Linked DNA regions of Homo sapiens: region 1 is linked to region 2. The links are contacts of gene promoters, found by promoter capture Hi-C in human tissues and cell types (Jung and others, 2019). All regions are on one chromosome and are shown on one strand. The core of a region is centred on a gene start or on the middle of the fragment in contact, and the rest is flanking DNA. Distances in the headings are between cores, read along the strand shown. Region 1 overlaps GRIA3 (glutamate ionotropic receptor AMPA type subunit 3). Region 2 holds the start of GRIA3 (glutamate ionotropic receptor AMPA type subunit 3).

Region 1 (3,475 bases), core at 600-3,099, 42 kb before region 2:
TTCAAGCCACTGGTTGGAAATGCTCCCTTGGATCTTTGAGGCCCTCCCAGAAACCCTGGAACTCAGTAAATGTATAATAATACAATTTACTATAATGTCTTTTCTCTTTTCAAGCAACCCAGCTGTCTGTGATCTCTAGGTCCCAGCTCACTATATTTGATGGAGGGTGTATTTACAGTGAACAGCTGAAATGGCCCCATAAAATGTCTCCTTCATATCCTTTTTATCCTTTCATTGACAAGCATAGGGCAGCTCCATGGAGTTGGCTGCTGAGAGGCTAACAATGTTGGCGCAACAAGTCCATGCTATTACGATAATTTCCATTCTTCCTTTCTGCTGCTCTGTTATTGTTATTTAAGCATTTTTTCCTAAGAGTTGCCAGAAGGACAGGAGGAGCTGAAAGGCTCCAGTCTCCAAAATGGAAGCGAAGGCTTAACACGGAAAGTTCAAACAGCCTTGAATGCAAGTCCTTCCTCACACCCTAGGTCTTTACCTCTTACTCATTGGCAAGTTGGCTTCAGTGACTTCACTAGAACTCAGAATGTCTCTCCAACTCATGTTCTATTGTCTGAAAAGGATGGTGACAGAGCAGGGAAGATACTACAGAAGAAACTACACATCTCAATACTTGAACTATTCAACTCAACCTAAGACAAGAGAATAGTAGAAAAGATGGTAATACTCTGCCTCCCAAATTAGTTTGCCTCATGGTAGAGAAAAATATTCACCCATGCTACACTCAGAAAATAATGACAAAAAGTCAGACAATTGGGCAATTGTGTTCCACTTTGTGACTTGTACACATCTGATTTTCAATTCTAGGCCTGCTTTCTCTTGTTCCCCTCCCCTTCCCCCACAGAATATCTGTGTCTGGCAGATAGTAGGTGCTCAATAAGTAATTGCTGACTGACTTATCAACACTTGCTGGCCACCCTTCTTGCTGGCAAGTGCTCTGAAGTCCACTCATCAGCTAGGTAACATTTCTTGGATGCTGTCTTTTTATCCATCCATCCATTCATTCGTCCATTCATTTATTCCTTTATTAAATATTTGCTTTATTGAATAGCTCCACTGTTAGGTACTGTAATAAGTGCTGAGGAGACAAAGGAAAATAAGGCCTCAAGTAACTCATAGTCTATGTCACAAGGATCACAGCAGATAGAAAAAAAGGTACCATGCATAAATTGTCAAAGAACTCATGATCCAGTTAAGGAAGTAACCTTAAGTGACATTAAATGATTCAAGAACAACATAAAATATTATAAAATGCAGTATTAAATCATTTAGCCTAGATAAGTGGGAAAAGGGAAAAAGAGGAGGAGGAATCTGTGTGGTTTTCAAGAGGTGCAGAAGATAATGAAGGAATATAAATTTGAGAGACAAAGGTAACAAGGCCATAAACCTCAGCTTTTATTAGTGGTCATATTAGATTTTCGTGAACATACAAAACATAATCTAAAATAAATATTATTCTAAGTGTGTGTGTGTATTGGAGGGGGTCAGGGAGAGGGACAGGAAGCTAGAAGTTGCAGATAAATATTACTGAACATGCCCCAAAGCTTCAGCTCCTTTCTGTTCTCATGGATAATCAATGATGAACTGCATACAAGAATGACTATTTGCATATTGTATTGTTCTTTTGAAATCTCAATGGGGTTTTTAAAGTCTCTCTCTGCCTTTTAATTATTATGTTTTAATATCATGAAGATTGAGGTTATTATCATTAGGGAATCCTCACCTTTCCTCATATAATTTTTCTTTCAGAGTCCAAATTGAAGTAAAAAGTGCTGGTCTCAGCCTTTGTCCAGGATTATTATGGGCATGTTTGGTCAGCTCATCAGCTGATCCCCAACACCTTATCGTAGAATGGGTGGTATGTATGCACAGAAATGAAACTTTTTGTAGACTTGGGCCATTATACCATCTGTACTCTCAGAGTGTCTTTCTCTGAAAAACTGAAGCAATGGGAAACTTTCTAGGCAGTTATACATTTAGAATCACAGTTTTTCTGAAGTTCTTAAAATCTCCTTGGTATACCTGGGAATACTTGGGAGCAAGCTTTGAAAAAATGTAGGCCAATGAGAAAGAATGGAAAAATATACAAAAATAATTCTAGTTTTATGTGGGTAGTGGAGTTTTAGATAAACCCATATCCTCATTTTCCAAACTTCTTGAACTGTTGTTATGTTGTTTTTTATGATAATGATGATGAAGATGATGGTGATGATGATGCTAATGATGGTGATGATAACACTTCAAATGTCTGGTTTCCACATCCATTTACAATGGACTTGACATGTATGTTTTATTTTGGGCCTTTTCTAGGACCAAGTAAAGGAAAAAGACTATAAGTGTTTGTCTTGTCTCAGCAAATAGGGTTTCTATTTAAAGCATGGCAGAATTTGGCTTTTTAAAGGGATATTTCTTATCAAGGGATATTAAACAGATTACTGTGGGTTCACTGTGAAAGATAATCTTTTGGGATTTCATGAATGAAATAGAGGTCAAGAGATTAAGAAGAATTATAGGTGAAAGGGACCAAGAGTCAGAAATACCATTAATTTAAATTTTATATTGGTAGAGGGGGTTTAGAATGAATTAAGCCTCTAAGGTCCCAACTTCAAGACATGTTGCTGAACCTGACTCAGAGAATGGTATTTTCAAGCATGCTGGGCTCAATTACCATTACACCTTAAAAGTTATTGCTTGGTGTATTAAATAATTATCACATTAATTGATTCATCCTATTTGTGAAATGTTAGAGTAGAAAAAAAGTCTTTGGATTTATCTTGGAAAGGAAGTTTGAAATGTACACTTCAAAACATGTAGTTCCTGGGACTAAAGATGTAATAGGTTCAGGTTCAAAAGATAAACTGCACAGACAAAGCTTTTGGTTATCCCAATTGCTACTGTAATTATTACTTGACTACAGAGAAATAAATTCATTATGTAACCCATTTTTTATGCCTCTGACAGGAATTCCAAGATTCAATAAAGGAAGAAACTGTCCATTTAGCAAATGTTCTTAGGTCTTCCATGCTATGATTAATTTATTCAGTAATCATTTATTGGGTACTCGCTCCGTGCAAGACCATATGCCAGGCACAGAAAAATAGTCATAGCTAACATTTGTTGAGTGTTTATTATGTGTCAGGCACTATAGGTGTTTTGTATGCATTATCTCATTTACTTGCAACACTATTGTTATTGTTTTGCAGATGAGAACATTGAAGCTTAGAGACACCGGTTGACTTGCCCCAAATTACATACCTAGTAAGTGCCAGAGCTGGTACTAAAATCCAAGTCTCTGATTCCAGAACCAGACATATTAAACATGAAGTCTGTGGCAGAATCCCCATCTTTAAAGAGGTTTCACGCACCTAATTGTAAAACAATGTGCATAAGTGCTACAGTTATGGTTTGCAGAAAGTTCAGAGGAAACCACGATTAATTCTGCCTGGAGATTTTACACAGG
Region 2 (3,463 bases), core at 124-2,623:
GGCTTTTCTAGACTGAAAAGAAGAGGCTAGAGAGAAGGGAGAAGAGACGAGGGAGCCGTTTTGGGTTAGGACGATGGAACCAAGAGTGAGACTTGGTTCTTTCTTAGTCGGCAGCCTTCTTTTTTTTTAGTCGCCCCCCCCCTCCGCCCCCCGCCCATCCGCACAGCTGGTCATCTTTTCATTGTGTGAAGGGAAAGGTTGGGAAGAAAAACAATATTGTTCCCCCTGCTACCCCAACCCGTTCCCCATAGCCACCCTCCCCCGTGACAATACAGGGGGTTGGTTCAGTAATGGCAAAAATTCTAACTTCTAGACTTGTAAATACGACAGAAGCCAAGATAACTCCCTCCAGGCGCCCAGGAGCCGGGCTCCAGACAGACACAGCGGCAATTCATGAATTCGTGGTCTGCGTGACTTCGCCGCTTGCCCGCTCAGCTCCTAGTCTCACCCCCGCCTCCTACCCCATCCACCACCAACGCCTGCTGCTGCCCGGGTCTGGGAGATCCAAAGTGGGCTCCACCTCCCCCAGCACCAGCCTGTCTCCCGACAGCCGGAGACCACGGACTGAGCACCCCGGGCCCGGGTTATGCGCCCTGGCGCGGCCAGACAGTCGGCATCACCCTGGGACAACTTCCAGGAGCTGCACGCACGCCATGGCAAAGTCCAGAGCAGCGAGCCGAAAAGCCTCGACTCTTCACCCCCTTGCAGCATCCCAGCCTCCTGCTCGCCTCCGGTGCTCCTCTCGGCTCGGAAAACCTAGCAGTTCACCCCCACTAGCCCCAGGAGACCCCTCTCTTGTCCCAGAGGCTCTTCAGACCAGCCACCTCGTTGAGGCTCAGATTCCCCCCGCCCCGCCCCCCGCCCCGCACCATCTCTGCCCGGTCCCGGCCCCAGTCCCAGTTCCCAGGCCACGCAGGACAGGGACCCACCGCAGGGAAAGCCTTGCCGGGGCAGTGGTCTCGGGTGAGGGAGAGCCTGGACCGACGGCTGGCTCGCTTGCGCTTACCTATGCTGATGGTGTTGGGGAATCCTCCGTGAGAATGACCCAAAAGCCCCAGGACTAAAAAGAAGACCGCCCGGAGCACGCTTTGCCCCATTTTCTTCTGCCTGGCCATGCTACGCCTAAAACGAAGCTGACAAGAGCATGGGCGCAACTCAGGAGTCGTCAAAATAATAATAGAAAAAGAAAAAGAATTCGCTGGCTCTTACACCCCCTCCCCTTAACTTGCTCTCGCTCACTCTTCCTTTCCACCCCACACTAGTCCTCCTCCTCCTCCGCTGCCGCCGCCTCCTCTTCTTCCTCTTCTTCTCTCTCCCTCTTACTCTCTCTCTTATTCGCTCGCTCTCTCTCGCTCGCTCTCTCTTCCTTTCTTGCTCCCTCTCTCTCCCTCTCGCTCCCAGGATCTCTCACACCCCCTCCCTTCCCCCCACCTCACTTCTGTCTTCACACCAATCTGGAAGGCGGGTTCATTGGCTGCAAGCTGGGTTTGCCAAAGCGATTTCTGTCCCTATGATAGAGAGAGAGAGAGAGAGAGAGAGAGAGAGAGAGAGAGAGAATAAAATCCTAAAACAGAACAAAACAAGCAAAACACTGAAAAACAAAAATAGAGAAGCAAAAGAAAGAGAACGAAAGAATAAATTATCAAGACAATCTGAGACTCTCTCCGCGCCCCCCCCCCCCCGCAAAAGATGGTAGGTCTAAAGAGGGGGGGAAAAAAAGGAAAGAGCGAAAAGGCTCAGTGCCGGTGAATTGGGCTCTTCCAATTGGGCCAGTAGGGGGATATTGATCAAAGTTGATCTGACGTGGAATTAAAGCCGCACACCGCTTAGCTCTACTGCAAACTGCAGCCCCGGACTGCAAAGCCTAGGCGCTGGCGTTTGTCAACACCGGAGATGGGATCAATAGAAATACACCACTCCTAACGTGGATCAACCTTTCAAGCTGCAACGTCCTCCCACCCTTTAAAAAAAAATAGCTGCATTGCCTCTGTGTTTGTGTGTCTGTCTTAAAGAAGGGGGGCCTTAGGAGGGCCATTAGTGGTTACTCCGGAGTCTTTGTAGAGACTCAGAGAAGCAGTTCCCATCACAATGCGCCCGAAGATGCTGCGCATGCCCGGTCTCTGCCGCTCCGCTTTTACAGCAGAGATCCGAGGGCGAGTGAGCAACCCCCACCCCCATCCCCGCAGCTTTGGGAGGCGTGTCCCTCCCCTTAAACTAGTGCTGAGGCCGGCTTGCGGGGGCATGGGGTGGGCGGTGCTGAGCAGTGATGGGCAGTATGGGGCTGACTTCTTTGGAGGGCATAGGAAAAAGTATGTGCGTAGAGGTAGTAACTAAAAGGTTAATGAAAAGGACGCTCAGGCTCACTGACCAAGGAGGAGGGAGGTGTGGGAATGAGCTGGTCTGGGGGTGGGGATTGAAAGTTGAGGCTGGAGAAAACTGTACCTAGCTGCATTGATCCCTTGGTGTTGCCTCTGGACTTAGCAGCCTAGGCCCCTGACTGATGACCTCAGAGGTTATCAATTCTTTCTGACTCTTCTTCCCCTCTGCTCTAAGGCGAGCAAAGAACCTATGAAGTCCTACAGTACAGACCGGATTTCAGTGACGGTGGCCTTCTCCATAGCATGCTGCGGATGAACCTCCTGGGCTATAGACTCCTCTCCCTAGCCCCTTTCTCCCGCAATGAGGAAAAAGAATCCTCTTTATCTCTCACGTTTTTCACTTTTACTTTACAGTTACTGTAGAAGGCATGGGTTTTATCCTCCCCACACCTGCTATTTTCCTTTTCATATCCTCTCCTCCTGGTCTAAGTGGAACATGAACTCTCCTGCCAGTGTAAAGCGAACTGATATACATCGGGGATAAAATTGGGAATATACAGGGGATAGAAGGACCCTGGAGCCCAGCTAGTATATCAGTTGCTACAGAACTTTGGATTTGGCGAGACGTAGTCTGGAGCCTGGAACAATGGAACAAAATGGCTTCAAACCAGAAAAATTGTCCTAGGCTCTTCCCAAATTTCTATTCATTCTGATAATGCATAATTTCCTCCCACCCACCACTCATAGAAATCTTTTGTCTCCATTTTGATATTTCATGGACAGGAGTGAAGGAGAAACATGAGAGTCTGAGGAGACTCATCTTTTCAGTGGAAGAAGCATTAGGGCAAAGCGGGTAGCAGAGGTAAGGTTGGTCATCCCCTGCCAAATGTAGACAGGGACATAGCATTATTCGGGAACATGGGCTTAGGAGGCATACACGTCCAGGTTCGAGTCTAAGTCCCATCACATACAGGCAGTGTGTGACCTTGAACAACTTTGTTAATCTGAACCCCAGTTCTCTCATCTTCAAAATGGGAATATTAATATCTTTCTTTATAAGGCAGTTGTGAAAATTAAGTAAGATAATTGATATGAAAGCATCTAATTCAGTGCCTGCCTCAGAGAAAAATCAATAAATGTTAATT

Evidence for each region. The method cuts DNA at HindIII sites, captures the fragments that hold promoters and counts their contacts. A contact is called where the count stands out against the background at its distance.
Region 1: a contact is called between a fragment that was not itself captured here and the fragment with the promoter of GRIA3 in region 2, in 1 of the 25 tissues and cell types used here (hippocampus).

What each region holds. Positions count from the first base shown.
Region 1 is chrX:123,224,942-123,228,416 of GRCh38, reverse strand. The region is part of intron 2 of GRIA3 (glutamate ionotropic receptor AMPA type subunit 3); the gene reads right to left. Among named protein-coding and RNA genes, the nearest start is that of GRIA3, 42 kb to the right of the region's middle. The HindIII fragment of the contact is 3,674 bases long and covers 13-3,475 here.
Region 2 is chrX:123,182,188-123,185,650 of GRCh38, reverse strand. GRIA3 (glutamate ionotropic receptor AMPA type subunit 3) reads right to left here and starts at 1,373. Exons shown (of 16, transcript NM_007325.5): 1 at 1,007-1,373. The coding sequence starts at 1,115. The HindIII fragment of the contact is 15,663 bases long and covers 1-3,463 here.